Linked DNA regions of Homo sapiens: region 1 is linked to region 2. Evidence: promoter capture Hi-C in 16 types of primary human blood cells and fetal thymus (Javierre and others, 2016). All regions are on one chromosome and are shown on one strand. The core of a region is centred on a gene start or on the middle of the fragment in contact, and the rest is flanking DNA. Distances in the headings are between cores, read along the strand shown.

What was found. The method cuts DNA at HindIII sites, captures the fragments that hold promoters and counts their contacts. A CHiCAGO score of 5 or more calls a contact.
Region 1: a contact is called between a fragment that was not itself captured here and the fragment with the promoter of CEACAM16-AS1 in region 2, in 1 of 17 cell types (M0 macrophages). The highest score is 5.9, in M0 macrophages.

What each region holds. Positions count from the first base shown.
Region 1 is chr19:44,662,193-44,667,118 of GRCh38, forward strand. PVR (PVR cell adhesion molecule) reads left to right here. Exons shown (of 8, transcript NM_006505.5): 8 at 1-3,970. It also overlaps a transcript of CEACAM19 not described here. Among named protein-coding and RNA genes, the nearest start is that of CEACAM19, 6.8 kb to the right of the region's middle. The HindIII fragment of the contact is 240 bases long and covers 1,131-1,370 here.
Region 2 is chr19:44,721,582-44,726,622 of GRCh38, forward strand. It overlaps CEACAM16-AS1 (CEACAM16, CEACAM19 and PVR antisense RNA 1), which reads right to left and starts at 3,602. Exons shown (of 2, transcript NR_186815.1): 1 at 3,256-3,602. RefSeq lists enhancers at 721-870, 1,001-1,110, 1,181-1,240. The HindIII fragment of the contact is 7,565 bases long and covers 512-5,041 here.

The DNA of each region.
Region 1 (4,926 bases), core at 1-2,500, 62 kb before region 2:
CAACATGCAAGAAGTACTGCCAATACTGCCAACCAGAGCAGCTCACTCGAGATCTTTGTGTCCAGAGTTTTTTGTTTGTCTTGAGACAGGGTCTGGCTCTGTTGGCAGACTAGAGTACAGTGGTGAGATCACAGTTCATTGCAGCCTTGACTTCTCAACGCCAAGTCATCCTCCCACCTCAGCCTCCTGAGTAGCTATGACTACAGGTATGTGCCACCACGTCTGGCTAATCTTTTTATTATTTGTAAAGTCGAGGTTTCCCTGTGTTGCCCAGGCTGGTCTTGAACTCTTGGCTCCAAGTGATACTTCTGCCTTGGCCTCCCAAAGTGCTGAATTAAGCAGCTCACCATCCACACGGCTGACCTCATACATCAAGCCAATACCGTGTGGCCCAAGACCCCCACCATAAATCACATCATTAGCATGAACCACCCAGAGTGGCCCAAGACTCCAAGATCAGCTACCAGGCAGGATATTCCAAGGGCTTAGAGATGAATGCCCAGGAGCTGAGGATAAAGGGCCCGATCTTTCTTTGGGCAAGGTTAAGCCTTTACTGCATAGCAGACCACACAGAAGGGTGTGGGCCACCAGAGAATTTTGGTAAAAATTTGGCCTCTGGCCTTGAGCTTCTAAATCTCTGTATCCGTCAGATCTCTGTGGTTACAAGAAACAGCCACTGACCCTGGTCACCAGAGGCTGCAATTCAGGCCGCAAGCAGCTGCCTGGGGGGTGTCCAAGGAGCAGAGAAAACTACTAGATGTGAACTTGAAGAAGGTTGTCAGCTGCAGCCACTTTCTGCCAGCATCTGCAGCCACTTTCTGCCAGCATCTGCAGCCAGCAAGCTGGGACTGGCAGGAAATAACCCACAAAAGAAGCAAATGCAATTTCCAACACAAGGGGGAAGGGATGCAGGGGGAGGCAGCGCTGCAGTTGCTCAGGACACGCTCCTATAGGACCAAGATGGATGCGACCCAAGACCCAGGAGGCCCAGCTGCTCAGTGCAACTGACAAGTTAAAAAGGTCTATGATCTTGAGGGCAGACAGCAGAATTCCTCTTATAAAGAAAACTGTTTGGGAAAATACGTTGAGGGAGAGAAGACCTTGGGCCAAGATGCTAAATGGGAATGCAAAGCTTGAGCTGCTCTGCAAGAGAAAATAAGCAGGACAGAGGATTTGCTCTGGACAGAGATGGAAGAGCCGGGAACAGAGAAGTGTGGGGAAGAGATAGGAACCAGCAGGATGGCAGGGGCAAAGGGCTCAAGGGTGAGGAGGCCAGTGGGACCCCACAGAGTTGGGGAGATAAAGGAACATTGGTTGCTTTGGTGGCACGTAAGCTCCTTGTCTGTCTCCAGCACCCAGAATCTCATTAAAGCTTATTTATTGTACCTCCAGCGGCTGTGTGCAATGGGGTCTTTTGTGGAAATCAAGGAGCAGACAGGTTTCATGTGTACTGTCACCACGTGGGATGGAACCAGAGGCATGGAAGCAAGACGCTAAATGAAGAGGGCCATAAGGGCTGGGATTCCCAGGCACCTTAGGAACAGCTTGTCTTTTTTTTTTTCCTCTCCAAAAAAAATGTTTAAGGGACGGTGTCTCCTGTCACCCAGGCTGGAGTGCAATGGCACGATCATAGCTCATTGCAGCCTCTAACTCCGGGGCTCAAGCAATCCTCCCACCTCAGCCTACCAAGTAGCTGTGACCACAGCTGCCCCTCACCATGCTAAGCTAATTTTTTTAATTAGATAGTACATAAACGTCCCAAAATTAGAAGATAAAAAGACATGAGGGATCCATTCTAATTTGTGTTTGGAGTGTAATGGTCCAGCTCCATTCTTCTGCACATGGATATCCAGTTTTACACAACACTGTGAATGTAATGAATGCCACTGAATCATACACTCAAAAATAGCTAAAATGGCAAATTGTCTGTTATCTCTTTTTAACCACCATTTTTGAAAATTAATTATACCAAAAAACCATTGAATAGTGCACTTTATTTATTTATTTATTTGTTTATTTATTTATTTATTTTAGAAATAAGAGTCTCACTTTGTTGCCCAGGCTGGAGTGCAGTGGCGTGATCATGGCTCATTGCAGCCTCGACCTGCTGGGCTCGGGCTATCCTTCCATCTCAGCCTCCCGAGTAGCTGGGACTATAGGTGGGCGCCACCCCACCTGGCTAAATCTCTTTTTAACTTTTGTAGAGATAGGCATCTCGCTATGTTGCCTAGGCTGGGCTGGAACTCCTGGGCTCAAGTGCTCCTCCTGCCTTGGCCTCCCAAAGCGCTAGGATTACAGATGTGAGCCACCGCGCCCACCCTGAACCTTACTTTTTTTGCTCAGTTTCTGGTAATTCAGAGAATGCCTCCTGAGTTGTTCTACACCCACCTCATATTCCATGGGAGGGCTGTACAGGGCTTTTTTAACGAGGCCTCTAAGGACAGGCATTTGTATCCTTTCCAGCCTTTCACTATTACAATGTTGTAGTGAATAACTTTACACACTGTCATTTATTTTACTTTTTTTTTTTTTTATTTTAGAGAAAGGAATCTTGCCATCTTGCCCAGGCTGGTCTCAAATTCCTGGGCCCAAACAATCCTCCCGCCTTGGCCTCCTAAAGTACTGGGATTTATAGGCATAAGCCACCGTGCCTGGCCAATGCACACTGTCATTTAGCTCATGTTAACACCTGAGTGTAGGACACACTCCTGGAGGTGGAATTGCTGGGCCAAAGAGTATGTTTCTTGTCATTGTGATAGATATTGACAAATGAACCCTCACAGAAGTTGTGCTGAGTTCTGTTCCCACCAGCGACGTAGGCGATGACCTTTTTCTGGAGGGAGGGGGCATCCTTGGAGTCCACAGAGCCAGGAATGGAGAGTGGGCCCAGAATTTTGGTATAGGTGTTGTATAAACTTATAGTAAGGTTAAGAAAACCGCAACTATCCTTATCAGAGACTTGGCGGGGGGCAGGGTATGATGGAGATCATAAGGAGGCTAAAACACTCCACACCCTCCCTCTGCATTGCTCCTGCACGGGAGTCGGGAATCTTTTCAGGTTGATACGATCTCACCTTGAGGAGCTGTGAGGTCCCAGAAGCCTCTGGGTTGCAGATTGCTTGGGGTGAAAATGTCTGTGCTACTGAAATCTAACTTTTTACAAAAAATTACGGGCTGGGCGCAGTGGCTCACGCCTGTAATCCCAGCACTTTGGGAGGCTGCAGCGGGTGGATCACTTGAGGTAAGGAGTTCAAGACCAGACCATAGTGAAACCGTGTCTCTACAAAAAAAATTAGCCAGGTGTGGTGGTGCATGCTTGTAATCCCAGCTACTCAGAAGGCTGAGGTGGGAGAATCCCTTGAACCCGGGAAGTGGAGGCTGGAGTAAACCATGATCGAGTTACTGCACTCCAGCCTGGGTGACAAGAGTGAGACTCTGTCTCCAAAAAAAAAAAAAAAAAAAAAAAAACTGGATTGCCTGGCTCTACTCCGGGCACAGCATGCAGGCCCAGTTCTGCTGCTCTGCTGTTTGTTCTGCTTTCCTCCACATATTGGCATCACCCTCTGGTGCCAAGATGGCTGCTGCATTCCAGGCATCACATCCAGACTCAGACCCAGAGAAGCTGCCCATCCCTACCTGGGTGAGCCTTTGTAGGAACGAGAAACCGCATCCAGCAGCAGAAACCTCACCCAGCAGCGTCTTTTCCGGTCTCATTCACCAGCGCCGCCCACCGCTCAACCAATCCCTGGCCAAAAGAATGGGACCGCCTGGAAGGCTGGACCAAACAGGACCTGCCCTCTGGGGCTGGGGAGAGGCCCAGATGAAGGCTGCAGGACAGGATGGACTCCTAGACCTCTGTTACCAGCAGTGACTACCTCTGTCTGGGTGGTTGGAACATGTTTGAATTTTATTCTAAGTACTGTCTACAAGTTCTGCAATAAACCTTGACTCTTCTTTTAATAATGCAAAAGGAATCGAAGTGATTGTTTGAAAGGGAGAGGAAGAAAGAGAGAGGGAGGGAGGGAAGAATGGAGGGAGGCAGGGAAGGAGACAGAGAGAGTAGAATCCAGCCACCGGAAAATCCAGAATAGCTGGCTTTGCTTAATCCATGCCTGGAAATAACTGCTGGGTTTGCAACAACTTCTCTCCCGGAGACAGACCAAGGAAACTACAAAACTGCAGGAAGGATTGAAGGGCCGGGCACAGTGGCTCACGCCTGTAATCCCAACACTTTGGGAGGCCGAGGTGGATTGGATCACCTGAGATCAGGAGTTCGAGACCAGCCTGGCCAACATGGTGAAACCTCGTCTCTGCTAGAAATACAAAAATAAGCCGGGCGTGGTGGCGTGCGCCTATAGTCCCAGCTACTCGGGAGGCTGAGGCAAGAGAATCGCTTGAACCTGGGAGGTGGAGGTTGCAGTGAGCTGAGATCGTGCCACTGCACTCCAGCTTGGGCGACAGAGTGAGAATCTGTCAGGTGGATTCTGAGGGTACTCTGACCCCACGAACCCAGCATGAAATCTTCCAGGCATTAAGGAACATTGAGGATGTGGAGGATTGGAAATCCCTCCAGGGAAAATACACTTCTCTTGAGCAGGGTCACGAGGGGTGGGGGCAATGTGGGAGGTGGGGCAAATCCAAAGACAAGGTCAACAGCAATAATAATAATAACAATGACAGGCATTTGTTGCTTGTTGGCTGGGCCTCTTGCATACAGTTCTCCCAACATCCCTGTGAGGTGGTGATGCTTATCCCCATTCTCCAGGGGAGGAGGCTGAGGCCCAGAGAGGTGAAGTCGTGTGCCACAAAATACCCCAGCCATATGGTGGTAGAACCAAGTTTTCAGCCAGACTCACCAGCTCACAGCAGAGCTGCCCTGGACTCTACAGCCATTCAGTGTATAGCTGGGCCACTCCATCATTCAAG
Region 2 (5,041 bases), core at 2,352-4,851:
CTCACTACAACCCCCGCCTCCTGGGTTCAAGTGATTCTCCTGCCTCAGCCTTCCCAGTAGCTGGGATTATAGGCATGTGCCAACTCACCCAGCTAATTTTGTTGTTGTTTTGTTTTGTTTTGTTTTTTGAGACAGAGTTTCACTCTTGTCTCCCAGGCTGAAGTGCAATGGTGCCCACTCAGCTCACTGTAACCTCTGCCTCCGGGGTTCAAGTGATTCTCCTACCTCAGCCTCCTGAGTAGCTGGGATTACAGGCATGCACTACCACGCCAAGCTAATTTTTGTATTTTTAGTAGAGACGGGGTTTTGCCATGTTGGCCAGGCTGGTCTTGAACTCCTGACCTCAGGTGATCCACCTGCCTCAGCCTCCCAAAGTGCTAGGATTGCAGGTGTGAGCCATCATGCCCGGCCCTGATTCAGGTTCTAACAGGATCCCTCTGGCCATGAGGTGGAAAGAGACTGTTGGGGGCAGAATTGTAAAGCGAGGGACAAGAAGAGTCAGGGGTCTCCAAGCTTTGAGCCTGAGCCACTGCAAGGATGAAGCTGCCATTTCTGAGGCCAGAAGGCTGCAGGCAGGGCTGGGTTGGAGATTGGAATGAAGATAGGTCTTGTTTGAGGCCAATGAGGAGGGAGCCTCACCCGAGGCACACAGGCTCCAGGCGGGAAGTTGGCGACAAGTTGTGGACTGTGGTTTTCACCCACCTCATGGGGCCCCCTCATCCTCTCCCCCAACTTCCCCTCACGCCGTGGTGGAGCCAGCTTTGTTTGTTTCCCCCCCATCATCCGTTTCATGATGGGGAAGACTGGTTTTCCCCTAACCCAACAGACACCTCTTCCCTCAGCCTGTCCCTGACCCTCCCACCTCGGGAAGCCCCGAGCGGGCCTCCCAGAATGTCCCGGCAGGAAGGGGCTGCTGCTACCGTTCATCCAGCCAGATGAACCCCAAAAGGGGAAGTGGGTCACCCGTAGTCACCCGGCTCATGGTCAGCTCGGGACTTCAGGATCTCGTCTCTTCACTGCACCCACCACAGCCCTGGGAGGTTTTCCATGCACGCTTCTCATTCTCCCCACATTTCACACGAGAAAACAGGGGCTCCAAGAGAGGCCCACACTCACCTAAGGAGCTCCAAAGATAGGGGCATCTGGATTTGAACCCAGGTCCTAGCAGATGTTGTTAGCTCAGAGGAGAAGGCAGAGAGGGTGAACAGAACCCAGCCTGCCCTCCCAGATCCAGTGGGAAGGCAGACTTGTCCCCAGGTAATAATAGCCCAGCAGTGTTCACAGCCTGGGATGGAGGAGCCCAGGAGGCTGCAGGAGCTCAGAGCGCATGCCTGACCCAGCCTGGGGTCAAGGAGGGCTTCCTGGAGGAAGGGACAGCTCATCTGATACCTAGAGGATGAGTGGGAGTTACTAGGTGTAAATAGTGCAGGGAGAGGGAAGAGTATGTGCAAAAGCCTAGGGTTGAGAGGAAACCTAGGGGCTCCAGCAAGGCGCAGTGGCTCATGCCTGTATTCCCAGCACTCTGGGAGGCCGAGGCGGGCGGATCATCTGAGGTCAGGAGTTCAAGACCAGCCTGGCCAACATGGTGAAACCCTGTCTCTATTAAAATACAAAAATTAGCCAGGCGTGGTGGCGTGCACCCATAATCCTAGCTACCTGGCAGGCTGAGGCACGAGAATTGCCTGAACTTGGGAGGTAGAGATTGCAGTGAGCCAAGATCACGCCACTGCACTGGCGACGAAGTCAGATTCCATCCCTCTCTCTCAAAAAAAAAAAAAGCTGGGGGGAGCCTAGGGGCTTCTAAATCCGATCGTGTCCTGGCCCTGATTAAACTCTCCTACAGCTGCCCTGGCAAACTCTTTAGCTTGGCATTCATTCATTCATTCATTCATTCACTCATTCATTCCATAAACATTCCCTGGAGTGCATTGTCAGTGTCAGGCCCCAGGGGAACACAGCAGTGACCACGACAGCCCCACCAGACCATGACCCTGACCAGGGGGCTCACGAGGGCGGAGACATCTACTCCAAGACCTGAAGGAGGAGTAGGAGAGATGCTGGGGAAGAGGCAGGGAAGGGTGTTCCTGGCAGAGGGAACAGCCTGTGCGAAGGCCTGAAGGTAAGTTTTGCATATGACACCTTTGAGAAACTACTTATTGTTCAACTGAAGCATAGGGTTGTTCAGAAGAAGCCAGCCTTGTGGCCGGGTGTGGACTTCCTCCCAGGGCACCAGGGAGCCACTGCAGAGTTGTGAGCAAGGGACAGACAGAGGTAGGCTTGTACTTCCAAGAGACTCCCCCAGCTGCCACATGCAGGGTGAATGGAATGATGCACAGAATCCAGTTTCAGGGGTAGTTTGGTACTTGGACCCAGGTCCCAGGGAGAGAGTCCAAGGAGCCCTTCTCTGGTCTTCCAAGGAGCTGCTCTCCCCAAGCTCCGGATGGAAGGCGTGCCCATGGCAACCGCTAGGTGGTGCCCGTACACCACCAGCCAGGTCTTTTTTTGCCAAAAGTAGATCAGGCCCAGAGCTGGGCAGAACTGCCCCTGGGTCAGGAGAGCAAATCGTCTCTGTCTTTTGGTCCTGGCTCCCTGGCCAGGCATCCTGGGGCCATTTGACTCCCAGGCTCAGGAAGGAGCTGGCTGAGCTGCAGTGAGTATGTTCTTCGTCTCTTTCCTCACCTTGGAATCTCAGACGGGAGCACCCTGGCTCCCACTTCAGACAGGAAGATTCTTACCTCCCTCATCAGACTAGCAGGCTCTTTGTCTCCCCACCAGTTTGAGGGGCTCCCCATTTCTATCATTCATTTGGAAGCTCATCAGCTCTCCCAGAAGGCATGGGAGCCCTTCAACACCCCCATCAGACTAGGACTACCCATCTCCCCCATCAAATTAGAACTGCATTGTCTCACACATCAAAGTATCACTCCTGGCCAGGTGCAGTGGCTCCCGCCTGTAATCCAAGCACTTTGGGAGGCCGAGGCAGGAGGATCACCTGAGGTCAGAAATTCAAGACAAACCTGGCCAACACGGTGAAACCCGGTCTCTACTAAAAATAACAAATTAGCCAGGCGTGGTGGTGTGCGTCTGTAATCCCAGCTACTCAGGAGGCTGAGGCAGGAGAATCGCTTGAACCCAGGAGGCACAGGTTGCAGTGAGCCAAGATCACACCACTGCACTCCAGCCTGGGCGACAGAGCGAGACTCTGACTCACAAAAATAAATACATTGTCTTACACATCAGAATGTTGCTCCTTACCTCCCCTGGCAGACTGGAAATATAGACTGGACACTCGTTCTTGCTGCACAGGACTGGAGCTTCTTATCTTCTTCATTGGATTTGGACAGTCCTGTCTCCCTCATGGGATTTGGTGAGAGCTCCTTAGTTTCCTTATTTTTCCCACTGTGTTGGGCCACCTTGTCCCCACCATCAGATTGGGGAACACCTTGTCTCCCAGTCAGACCAGAGGGGCGGACTCCTCTGCCCTTGCAAAGGTTCCTAGGTCCTTCTTACATCCATAGGAGGAACCATGCCTATTTTACCAAGAGGGAAACTGAGGCACAGAGAAACAAAGCACCACTTCTCTGTCCAGCTGCAGATGCCTCCACCTCCCCCTCCGCCCGCTCCTCTGCCCCTGCCCTCCCCCGCCCCCGCCCCTGACCTGGGTAACTCCCCTGGCACCGGGAGTAGGGGAATTTTGCCCTGCTGGCCTCTGCACCAACCACCTCCCCTTATCGGCAGCGTCGCCACCAGTGGCGGCCCAGGGTTAAAGTCCGGAGAGAGCTCCGGGCGCGAAGCGGATAGGGAGGGAGGAGTGGCGCCCAACCCAGAACGGGGACTCCCCGGAGGTCGAGCCCTCACGCTGCTGGGAGGAGAGGGGATGGGCAGGGCCGTGTCCCATGGTAAGGTGTGGGTTCAATCCTTCCTTTCTAGTTCCCGGCTGTGTGGTCTTGAACCTGGAACTTCACCCCAACTGGGAGCCTCAGCTTCTCCAGCTTTAAGGAGTCAGGGGCGTGAAAATGTCCAAGCTCTGGAGTCAGACTCCAGGAGTTTGAATGCTGGCTCCTATAACCTGCTGTGTGAGATCTGGGGCCAGCGAGTGTGTCTCTCTCAGCCTCAGTTTCCCCAGCTGTGCAATGAGGATACCTAGTGGGTGGTGGTGAACGCTCCATGAGTTTACGCACAAGAAAACCTTGGGACAGTGGCTGATAGTGGCGCCAGCAAGCCAGCATGCACCCCACCCTTTCCTTCCAAGAAAATTGCCTCCTAAATCTATGATTGGTAACCTTCACCCCTCCCTCTTTGACCCACCTCCTAACCCAGGCCACCTGGTGTCTTGCTGCACAGCTGGTCTCCCTGCCCGCACCACACCCAGAGGCGTCCTTGGAAACCCAACCCTGACCCCTGGTCAGAATCTGCCATGGCTCCCCAGTGCCCCCAGGAGAAAGCCAAGTGCTGTGCCACAGCCACAGCCTGACCACTCACTGCTTGTATTTTTTTTTCTTTTTCTTTCTTTTCTTTTCTTTTTCTTTTTTTTTTTTTTTTTTTAAGACAGGGTCTTGCTCTGGCCCCAGGCTGGAATGCAGTGGTGCCATCATAGCTCACTGCAGCCTCAACCTCCTGGGCTCAAGCAATCCTCCCACCTCAGTCTCCTGAGTAGCTGAGACTACAGGCACATGCCACCACACCTGGGTAAATTTTTAAATTTTTTTTTTAGCGATAGGGTCTCACTCATTGCCCAGGCTGGTCTTAAACTCCTGGGCTCAAGCGATCCTCCCGCCTCAGCCTCCCAAAATGCTTGGACTACAGGTATGCACCACCGCGCCCAGCCTCCTTTCTGGTTTTCTAATAAAGCCTTTTGTTCACCTCCTTCAAACACTTCCCCATGCTCTTCAGGTCTCAGCTCAAACAGGCCAGGCCCGGTCCCCTGGGTCCTCTCTGTCCTCCGTCTCCTGGTTCCCTGTACCTCTCCAAAAGCCCCCACGACCAAAAGAAGTAAAGATGTAGGGCCGGGCGCGGTGGCCTACACCTGTATTTCCCAGCA